Linked DNA regions of Homo sapiens: region 1 is linked to region 2. The links are contacts of gene promoters, found by promoter capture Hi-C in human tissues and cell types (Jung and others, 2019). All regions are on one chromosome and are shown on one strand. The core of a region is centred on a gene start or on the middle of the fragment in contact, and the rest is flanking DNA. Distances in the headings are between cores, read along the strand shown. Region 1 overlaps UBASH3B (ubiquitin associated and SH3 domain containing B). Region 2 holds the start of CLMP (CXADR like cell adhesion molecule).

Region 1 (5,397 bases), core at 1,829-4,328, 390 kb after region 2:
CCATACTTTTTTTGCAATATGCCTTTTTCACTAAAAAATTGATAGTGAACAGTCTTACATATTAAATATTTGAGCTCAGTGTTTAGAAAATTCAATAGCAAACACACTTGAGCCTTATACAACACTGCTCTTGGTTGGTGATAGCAGGGAAGGTGTATGTGTTTGTGTAGGTGTGCTGTGTGTAGGTGTGCATGCCGCTGCATCAATTATAGGCAAAACAGTGGCATGCTAGAGCTTTTGGAAATTATAAGAGGGAATCTCTTTCACAGGGTGCAAGAAGAATAGCTATAACGCAGAATTTAAGTTATTAAGAATAGTAACTAAGTCTGGTATAAACCCCTGGAATATCTACCATTTTAGGAACTCAGAGAATATTACAAATTTAATGTAAAAGTATCTGGAAGAAAATCTGGAAATACATTTCTTTGGTTAGCCAAAGCAAGTTGAAACATCTTGAATAACCTATTAACCATTATAGAGAAATAATCACGTATGTACAGATGGAGTTCAGAATAATACCACTTACCTTTACTTTTACATTCACTTATTATTTCTTTTGTTACTTGGAAACTTCTACTGATATAAGTATCATAGGATTCTGAAACAACTAATTTGCTGATTGGAATGTGAGGTCTGTAATAGAAAAATGAACAAAGGAAATGAAAACATTTTGATCTTGAGACAAAGGAAGATATCACTCTAAACTTTTATTTCAAGGCATTTCTAAAGATCCCGTAGATCTGTTTGTTTATCCATTTCCCTAGAAAGGAGAAAGGTATAGGGAACAGCATTTCTACTATATGAACATGGAGTGGAAATGTACAGAAATAACAGCTATGTGTATGGCGTTACAGTGACCAGGTGAAAAATGAGACATTCAGTGCATGTTTCACTCTCGGGATAACAAATAAGCCATTGATGGATGGTCCTAGTCACATAGCTAATACAAAACAAAGCAGAGATGGAACCCTCAACCTATTTAGATCAGCAGGGATTTCCCAGACCTCTCTTCAAGAGCAGCAAGGATGGGTTTTAAACGCAGATATTAGGTCCATCTGATTCTTTGCGAGTTTATCAAATTTCACCAGTCTTTTCCTTTAATTCTCTCTTATTTTGAACACAGACCATACACTTGGCACAAGGAGAAGTGCAAAGCATAAAGATGAAGACCACTCAATTTCTGTGTTGGAAAAGTTCTCTGCCTGTGGTTGGGGTGAAGAGGTTATTGATGTAAATGATAATTACTATACAATCTACAAAGGCATGTGATACTGTGTGTCCCTCACCGGCCTGGGGGCCTGGCTGTGCCCCCCACCCAAATCTCATCCTGAATTTCCACATGTTGTGGGAGGGACTTGGTGGGAGATAATTGAATCATGGGGGCAGGTCTTTCCTGTGCTGTTCTCGTGATAGTGAATAAGTCTCACAAGATCTGATGGTTTATTTTTTAAAATTTTTATTTATTTATTTTTTGTTATTTGTTTTTTGTTGTTGTTGTTGTTTTATTTTTGAGATTGAGTTTCACTCTTGTTGCCCAGGCCGGAGTGCAATGGCTCGATCTCGACTCACTGCAACCTCCGCCTCCTGAGTTCAAGCAATTCTCCTGCCTCAGCCTCCCAAGTAGCTGGGATTAGAGGCATGCGCCACCACACCCGGCTAATTTTGTATTGTTTTTAGTAGAGACAGGGTTTCACCATGTTGGCCAGGCTGGTCTTGAACTCCTGACCTCAGATGATCCGCCCACCTCGGCCTCCCAAAGTGCTGGGATTACAGGCATGAGCCACTGCACCCAGCCAATCTGACCGTTTTAAAAAGGGGAGTTCCCTGCACAAGCTCTCTCTTTGCCTGCTGCAATCCATGTTAAGACGTGACTTGCTTCTCCTTGCCTTCCGCCATGATTGTGAGGCTTCCCCAGTCACATGTAACTATAAGTCCAGTTAAACCTCTTTCTTTTGTAAATTGCCCAGTCCCAGGTATGTCTTTGTCAGCAGCGTGAAAACGAACTAACACAGCATGGAAGAGGATGATCAAAGCTAGGCTTCCTGTCCCGGTGCCCCTGCATGTCTTCAAACCCAGTCACCAATGCCCTTGGGGCCTGCCTCTGCCTGCCTCCACCCCCGCTTAACTATGTAGAGTTTCTATGTTGTTTCTGGTCCACAAGATGTTTATCTTGTTTTCTGGGTACAACTATGTCATTTCAATTTTCTTATTTTGTCAATTTTCATATTTTGTCTTTCACTGCTGGGTGTTTAGTGCCTGGTGGAGGTGTGGTAAGTTCTCAAAATGAATTCACATGGCCTCTTGATCAGAAGTAGGCTATTACCACTACTATTAGCACTGAAAATATTTACTGAGGTTCCCATATGTGTCAGGCTCTGTGCGAGTGTCCTGCTTGCATTTCTTCGGTCTAATCCTCCCAGCAATGCTTTCATAAATGCTGTTTATGGATGACAAAACAGAAGCTCAGAAAGGCTGCAGCTGACTTCCCTATGCTAACACCGTTAGCAACTCTTAGAATCTGGATTTGAATCTGAGTCTGGAGTCTGGCCTGTGAGCCGATCCTCTACACACAGCTTCTGACAGTGCCCTTGCTAAGCCTGGCCTTCTGTGCACACCGGCTTACTGTCCAGGGGAAGGATGCCGTTCCACTTGAAGGAAACTTGCCCATATCCTGCATTCTCTCAGCATGCCTGTTTCTCCTAGGAAACAGCCTTCTGAGTCTCACAACACCCTGGGGGATAGGTAGAGACCTGAATCACCACTTGTTGGGGCTGTACCTCATTGTTCTGGAGCAAGCTTTCTCCTCTTTTTCTGTCCCCATCCCCACCTCTCACCCAGTTCCATCACCATTTATGTCACCTCATCTCCCAGGCCCATCCCCTGCCCACAGTGACAAAAGTCCACTTTGTATGGCCCAGGGAGTCATTTCAAGTGTGAGACCATGTAATGTGTGAGATTTATGTAGGTGAAGAGCGGGATACATGCTGGGATCTGGTTCGTCCTGATCAGTTCTTGCCTATGGCTTCTCCCAGCACCTTAAAGTGGAGCCTGTGAATGACTCCAGTGTCTGGAGTCCTGATGGGCTTGGCCTGAGTCAAAGCTTCCTCACCCTTGTCAGCAGGTCACGTCATGCTGCTAGCCACACCTGCAGGCCCTGTACTGTCCTCAGAGTCAGGTGGCCTTCCCCCCACCCACTCAACCTGGAATACGGTGCTCTGGAAGTCAGGTGGCATCCCCGAAACTGTATCCTCCCCCATATACTCTCTGCTCCCCACCTTGCTGTGGTCCAGGTTGTAAGCACAGGCCTCTGCTTTGAGCCTCATGCCAAAGTTTGATTTGTTTCCCCTCCAACACTCCAGATCCATACCCTCCCCCAGTCCCCTGTCCTCTGAGTCAGGGCTCTGTTCTGAAGCCCCACCCAGCTGGTGTGGATTTTGTTTTTTCTGCCTTGCTCCTCTGGCCCAGCTCCTCAAGGCTGGGGTTGTTTTCAACCCCCCCAGGCCCTGGGCTGGTCTTGCTGCCTGTGGATGATGCTTCAATATTAGTCACCAGCCTGGTTAGCTTCCCTAACTCGGCTTTCAGTCCCACCTCCCTCCTGTTCTCTTCCTACCCCTGTTGCAAGGTGAGAGGGCTCTTTCAGCAGAGCCTGCCTGATTCACACTACCCCGGCTCTCAGGGCTTCCCTTTCTGCCTGTCACCACATGTCTTCAATCATCTGGGCACCACTTCCTTGCTTCCAAAGGCTTGTCCATTTGGCATCATTAATTTCATAGGGAATTAAACTCCGGGGCTGTCCCTTTCACATGCTTCAACTTTGGCTTTCTCAACTGATTTTTCAAATTAGAGGCTTCATCTCCTACCCCAACTCCCTCGCCAAACAGAAAATGGTTGAATTGAATTCTGATTTGCCGGAGAGGAAAAGGCAATCTGGAATAAGGACTGTGTCCTGATCCCCAGGCTCCTGGCATTCATCCTTCTGCTCACACTGCTGGTGGGGTGTGTATCTGAGTGTACATTGACAGGCTCAGGTAGGACGATTCTGGAGACCTTTGTAAGGCCGCTTGGGAGGCAATGGCAAAACACATCTAGAGGAAATATAAAATACATAGTTGACCTAAATTGGTCTGGGTGGGGCTGGTGGTAAATGGTGAAAGTCACTTAACCAATGTTGGTGGCAACTCCTCCTCTTTCCAGGCCAAAGGGATGCTGGCTGCTGCATGGGGGACAACAATTTATTGCTAATTCCCTGCAAAGAACAGAAAACCAGTGGCCAGAGAGGGGATAGAACAAAATGTGAAGTGTATTCATAGGGGATCCTGTTGATTGATCTAATTTTGTTTTTGAGGAATGCTAATTCCTTTAAGACAAGCAGCAGCAGCAGCACATAACTAGTTAATGGGGTTATCCGAGGTCTTATTTGCTGAACAGAAAAAATGAGTATGGAAAAAGAATATATTGTCTATTACCTTAGCCAGAAATGCACATTGCTTTAATGTGGTTTGGGTAGGTATTTAAAATGAAAGGTCAACAGATATCACATAAGAAAGTTCTGCTTATATTGACCACTTGTTACAAACTCTGCCTTAAGAAATATGAACTTAATTCCCCATTATAATGGTTGTGACTATCTGTTCCTTCTCAAAGAGATTTTTACAAATACCTGAGTAGACTTTTGATAGTTAAGGTAACTATATTATTATTAATTCTTTTTTTTTTTTTTTTTTTTTTTCAGACAGAGTCTCACTCTGTCACCAGGCTGGAGTGCAGTGGCATAATCTTGGCTCACTGCAACCTCCGCCTCCTGGGTTCAAGCGATTCTCCTGCCTCAGCCTCCTTAGTAGCTGGGACTACAGGCGTGTGCCACCACGCCCAGCTAATTTTTGTATTTTTAGTAGAGACGGGGTTTCACCATGTTGGACAGGCTGGTCTTGATCTCCTGACCTCACGATCCACCTGCCTCGGCCTCCCAGAGTGCTGGGATTATAGGCGTGAGCCACCGTGCCCAGCCCTATTATTAATTCTTAATTGTATACATGCAGATTATTCACCTGTAAGCAATCAACAAACACTTTTTAAAATCCCAGCACAGTCGGGTCTAATGGAAAAAGGAAAGGAACAGGAATGAGATGACTGTACAGCAGATTGCATGGTGCTGGACATGTGGAAAATGATGAATAAAGTTTATTATTATTATTGTTATGTGTGGTCACTAAATGTATAAATACCTTTAGGCAAGTTATTTGAACTCTCTCATACATAAAAATGGTTTACCTACATTCTGGGGATATAGCAATAATAAACAAAGATAATACAGAGATTTAAAAATGCTTTGAAAAATTAAACGTAGAAACTGTAAGACAAGACATCATCATCTCCCTTATCGCTCCAATCTTCTCA
Region 2 (5,968 bases), core at 195-2,694:
GTGACCTTGTGAAACTTCCATAACCTCTCCAGGCCTTTGCTTTCCTAGTCTGCGAAATGGGACGGGTTTTCATTACACATTTGCATTTCATTGCAAATGTGTGACTCGGCAGCCCACCGGCCCCGGCGGGGTTCATCTTTCTTCTCAAGAGCGCTGGCCCCGGCTTCCAACCTGGGCTCTGGCGAGGCCGAAGGTGAGCGATTGCGTCATCATGCCTCTGGGCAGCTGAGGGAGAAGCCCTCCAGGGACATTCAGAGACTGGGACCAGAGTTTCTGAGAGGCCCTGGGCACAAGGTCAGGGCAGGAGGTCCAGGCAGCTGAGGTCTGAGCGCCACCCTCACTGCCCTTTCTTAGTCTCGCTGCCTCCCGCTGCCGCTGAGCAGCAGGGTAGTGAAGGGCAGACTCCCAGGGGCCGACCCTGGGGCGGGGCTGCTCGGCTCCGCGGAACCCACCGTCCGCCCCCGTCCGGCCGCCAGCCTCCTGCCCTCCGCGAGCCTCCTGGGCCGGGTTCCCGGAGCCCGGGCGCGCAGGCCCTGGCACCAGGGGGATTCTGCTCCCTCTGCCTTATGTTCTTTCTGAAAGGGGGTGGTGCACATTTTGGCCAGGGCCACGTGCAGAGCACTTTGCTGCAAAGCATCTCGATAGACCTCTTTCCACGGGGCTGTGGGTCCCCTTCCCCTGGGTGCTGGCTGGCTTAGCTCTGCTCGGGACCTGAGGGAGCGCTGCTGCAAATACCGACAGTAGAAAGCGAGCGAACGCGAAAGGCCCCAGGAAAGCCAGGCCAAGGGGGGTAGCCGGGTGCCAAAGCAGGCAGTCGGTGGGGAGAGCCCTGGTCGGCCGGCCGCTGGCTGCCTTCGCACCCACTTCCGCGCCCCGCCGTCGGCCTGGTCAGTCTGGTGGCTTTACACTAACAGAACCAGACGGGGAGGGAGAGGAGAGGCGAGAAGAGCGCAGAGGACAGAGGGGAGAGGGCATGAGGAGACGAGGAGGGAGAGGCAAGAATGCGAACAAGGAGACCTAGAGAGGAAGAGATGGAAGAGAGAAACGCCAGATTTGTGAGAGACGTGGAAGCAGAGAGAAACGAGAGTAAAAAAGAAGCGAGAGAGAAGTGGAGAGAAGGACCAAGTGAGAGCAGAGCTCTAGGAACGGACAAGGCCTCGTCCATGGGCTCTCAGCCGAGGTGTCACCAATGCCTCCTGCAAAGAATCAATCCTACGCCCGGCGCCTCTCAACCCACCCGCCTCTGCACGGCCCCAGGTCTCCCCCGGCCCTCCCTGCCCGGCCAGCTCACGCTTCTCCCCGACCGGCCCCCACCGCAAACCCCAAACGCCGCGCGGGAGGGAGGGAGGGAAGGAGGGAACAGCGAGAGAGAGAGGGAGGGGCTGCGGTAGGAGGCAACCATGTGGTTCCAGCTGAATTTTTTTTTTCCCTCTCTCTTTCTTCACTCCTTTTTCTTTCCAAACAGGGAAAAGTGTTCCACGAAGCGGTAGCGCCTTTTCGCCTCGCGTTTTCCTCCCTGACCCTGGTCCCGGCTCCCGTCCGGGCGCCAGCTGGTGGGGCGAGCGCCGGGAGCCCATCTGCCCCCAGGGGCACGGGGCGCGGGGCCGGCTCCCGCCCGGCACATGGCTGCAGCCACCTCGCGCGCACCCCGAGGCGCCGCGCCCAGCTCGCCCGAGGTCCGTCGGAGGCGCCCGGCCGCCCCGGAGCCAAGCAGCAGCTGAGCGGGGAAGCGCCCGCGTCCGGGGATCGGGATGTCCCTCCTCCTTCTCCTCTTGCTAGGTGAGTGCCTCTGGGAGGGCGGGAGTTTGGATGGCCGTGGGCAAACGCAGCCCTGCGTCCGGGAAAGACGCCGGTTCTGACCGGGTGTCCCTGCAGCCCCTGGAGTCAGCCGGCTTTTCAGTCCCTGCCTCCTGGCCACGGAGGAGCACATCTGGCAACCGAGGGCCGCCCAGTCGGCCATCGAGATTGTCTCGCACATCTGGGCCCTTGAACAGGCTTGGGGAACCGTTTGATGTGCAGGGTCCTCTTTAGGGCGGTGTTTAGTTTCTGGTGTATCTGGGAAAAGTGGAGAATTGGTGGAGGGAAGGTTTATCCAGGAATTTTTGTGCCAGGTTCCTGAGGGTGGGGGTTTTTTGTTGTTGTTTCAAACAGGCGCCTCCGAGGCTCAGATTAGAAACAGATGTGTTAAAGGGTGAGCAGAGTGGGGGATAGGCAGGGTTGGAGAGGAAAGGGGAGAGGGAAAAAGGGCAGGGCCCAAGGAGCACCAGGAAGATGCAAATGCCCCAAGTCACACAGGGAAGGAAGGAAAAGGGGAAAGGGGAAGGGTTGGGAAGGAGAGAGAAAAAGAGGAGAACAGGAATGTAAAACAGAAGAGCAAGGCTGGGGGAGTCCGAGCACAGAGAGTGAAGAAGACTTGGAAAAAACGCAGCAGAGGAACCAGAACAGAGGGAAATAGAGCAAGCACCACTTTTTCCTGAAACAGGCTCCAGAGCAAAGGGAAGAGTCCTCCTGAGCGTCCCTTCCTGGGGTCCCCCAGGCAGGACTCTTGGGGCCTCAGAGGCCCTGAGGCAGAGGCAGGTTTGCAGGAGAGGACATCAGGGATGTGGGTGGTAGGAGCCCACCGGAGTGACTGGAAATGTCTGAGGAGCCAGGGCAGGAAAGGCAGTCAGGGAGAGCCAAGGGCACGTCACTATGCACCCTGAAGCATGGGATCCACTGCAGACAGGCCCCACAGTTAGCTGGAGATCAGAAAATCAAAGAGCCAGCCAGTGGTCAAGAGTGAGCACTACCCTGAACACCAGGCCACGGGAGAGCTGGTCCTGGTTTTGAACTGACTAGCTGGGTGGCCTCAGACAACTTACTCCTTATCCAGGGCTTCCACGTCTTTAGCTCTGGAAAGAGAATACTAGATGGTTCCTAAGTCCCTTCTAGCCTACAACACCAGAGGTTTGAAGGAGGCTGGTGTCTAGAAGAACCACCAAATCCTGAAATACGTGGTTAGAGTTCTCTGTCTTTTTTGAAACTTTACAAACCAATTATACTGTATGCATACCCATCTTGGCCAGCCTCAGGCTGATAATCACTTAAGTTAGAGAAATGAAAGAGGTGGGCTAAGCCAAACTATTGCTCAAGTAAGGCAGGTGGGGAGGGGTTATTTTCTAAACTCTTTTAGACTTAACCAAATACTGCAATACTGTTCCTGTGCACATCTGGCGCAGCTGGATGGCACCTTGATTCCCTTTACTGGACTCTACCACTAGGTTACCAATCACCAGATATTTAGTAGAATGAAACTTCAGGGCTCTCTTATTAAAAACAGCTAATAGTCCTTGTTATATGAACACTTTATATGTACTATCTTGGTAATTCGTTTGTTCTTCACAACAAGCCTATTGGCTGCCCAGCCATCCTTGTTGGCTACCCTCATTTTACAGATGAAGAAACCAAGCTGTAAAAAGGCCAGGTAACTTGCTCAAGGCCACACACTCATAATTAGGGGAGACGGAATTTGAGCGCAGGCTGCCTGCTTCCAGAGAAAGCTTGCTAAAGCGCATTGCTTTACAGCCTCCTGTGGCTGCAGAGATTCTCAAAGCGCTTACCCTCTGCCACACCTGGCTGGCTCTTCGATCTCACCATCCTCTTCATGGAATGTAAGATGTCAGCGTGACCTATAGGAGAGAGGTCTGGGAAAGGGAAAAAAAATTTGCACTTTTTGAGCACCTGTCCTTATTTAAGAAATGGTTTGGAGCCATGGAATGCTCGGACACTGTTCAGCAAAGGCAGAAAGAAAACACAGCAAGTTGTCTGAATCCTGAAATCATCATACTGGTCCTTTAAAGGGGCAGTTCCAGGGCTGCTTCTGATCCTGGCTGGCATGGTTTTTGGCTTCTCTTTTTCTAAAGATTGCACAGTATCAAACAGGGGCTGGGAGGGTGGAGAGTGTTCATCGTCTGAACTGTGGGACAGTTGACTCCATGTTTCCTGGACCTGCCAATGAGTGAGGTCAAATAACCCACCTCTCTGATGTGAATGAATAAGAAGTGCTCTGAGCCCCATGGAGAAGAGAGAAGGAGCTCCAGCTCAGCCCCTCTTCTGACCCACTATCCTGCCTCACTCCCGTAACGTTCCGGCCCTCATTGTGCCACCTTAACTTCTCTCCTGGATGACTATAGTAGCTGCCACGTTCCTGTCCTGCCTGTCCTCTCTCCTCCATCCTGCACACTGCTACCCGAGTAACCCTGTGAGGCCGCTGGTAGAATGCACGAAGCTGGAACTTAAGAGTCTGGCAACCTCTCTGGTTCTTATTCTGACTCCCTTGTCTGTACAATGGGCATAGGGGTAGGGGAATGTTCAATTCAAAATTTCTATAATTCTATGGTTTTTCTCCCTTCTTCCAAAAACCTTTAGTAGTCTCATTGCTTTTAGTGTTGAGTATAAACACTTCATTCTGACATCAAAGACTTTACATAATGTCATTCACAGCTCTTCCTCTACTCACCCCCAGATACTCGGTAGGGAACCTGAATTACTTCATGCGCCCAAAACATGTCCCATGCTTCTTTCTAATTCTATGCTTTTGTTTATGATAATCCCCCCACCAAAACTGCCTCCTTATTTCCTGCCACTGCAGATCAAAATCATGTTCATTCCCCAAGTCTCACCTCAAATGCCACTTCCTCCATACACCTGTCCATGGTTTCACCAGCTGAATATACTTTTTTTCTTTTGAGTAGTCTATTTGACCTTTGAATCCCAATAGCCTTCCTCTTATGCTACTTTGTATTATGGTGTTCCAAATGCTTATCTAACACCCCATTAGAATGGAAGCTCCATGAAGGCAGGGACAGTGTCTCATTCACCTGTGAACCATGTTCAGTACCTTGCATAAACACTTGTGAACTATTTGTTAAGAGATAATTGGATTTTTGAAGTATTTGAAATCTTTAAGGTCAAGAGAGGTGAAAAATTTGGAAGATCACTAACCTTTGACTGCGGGATAACCCAATAGTGAGGAGCCCAGTTTTAATTCAGCTTGCTTTGAGCTTCCTTGTCTATTAATGCAAATAGGACCAGTCCTATTTTTAAAAAATTCACAAAGAACATTACAGGGATAGGGACCAGATAATATATTTGTCATACAAATTTATTTTGTATATCGTGTGTGCTAGTACCAGATTAAAAATAGACTTACCTGTTGAAACTTCTGCCAGCACGGGGAAGGAGCCTGGTTTCGCAGAAAGTGAGTTTGAAGAAGGCATGAATGCATAGTCCATTGGTCTGTAAGATAACGACAGGTCTCAGTAGGATTCCATGTCCTACCCTTATCTTCCCACTTTAATGGTGATGGTCATAATAACGATATATTCCCTGTAGGCTTATATCTAGTCATATCCTATTTTTGTCTTGTGCTTATCTGGGCAGGGTACACATGAGTATTATTTCATGAATGCATCTAGTGATGATGGATATTTTTTAAAGGTAGAGTCAAAGATTGCCAGAACTGGAGGAAAACTAAGAGACTGTTTAAATCAATCGTTCTTAAAATTTTGAGTCCCAGACCCTTTGTAGAATCTGATGAAAATCACAAAACCAACTTCTTAGAAAAAGACATGTATACATCAAATTTGCCAATAATATTTAAGACCTCATTGAGACCTCCTGATACTTTTCCTTGGAACCCAAGTTAATCTTTCATCTAAATCTATGCCTTCTTTTAAGATGAAGAAGAAACCAAAGTTCAGAGAGGTTTGGCTAAGGTTATACAGCTAGCTCAGTAGAAGGGCCAAGACTGGAACCCGAATTCCATGATCCTATTACACATTTTTGAAATAGAAAAATGTCTCTCCTTCCTTTTCAGCTCATGTACTTAAGCTTCAAGATCACAGCTGCTCTTGTGATGCTTCAGTTAAGTGAGCTAAATGCTGAATAATTGGCATTGGTTTTTATTATATGAGAAATTGCCTGAAAA

What was found. Contacts are between HindIII fragments. The study calls those that stand out against the background at their distance.
Region 1: a fragment that was not itself captured here is called in contact with the fragment with the promoter of CLMP in region 2 in 1 of the 25 tissues and cell types used here (IMR-90 fibroblasts).

Annotation. Positions count from the first base shown.
Region 1 is chr11:122,801,646-122,807,042 of GRCh38, reverse strand. UBASH3B (ubiquitin associated and SH3 domain containing B) reads right to left here. Exons shown (of 14, transcript NM_032873.5): 12 at 527-633. Among named protein-coding and RNA genes, the nearest start is that of CRTAM, 34 kb to the left of the region's middle. RefSeq lists enhancers at 1,709-2,227, 3,031-3,773. The HindIII fragment of the contact is 4,850 bases long and covers 654-5,397 here.
Region 2 is chr11:123,190,724-123,196,691 of GRCh38, reverse strand. It overlaps CLMP (CXADR like cell adhesion molecule), which reads left to right and starts at 1,444. Exons shown (of 7, transcript NM_024769.5): 1 at 1,444-1,779. The coding sequence starts at 1,752. The HindIII fragment of the contact is 11,250 bases long and covers 1-4,705 here.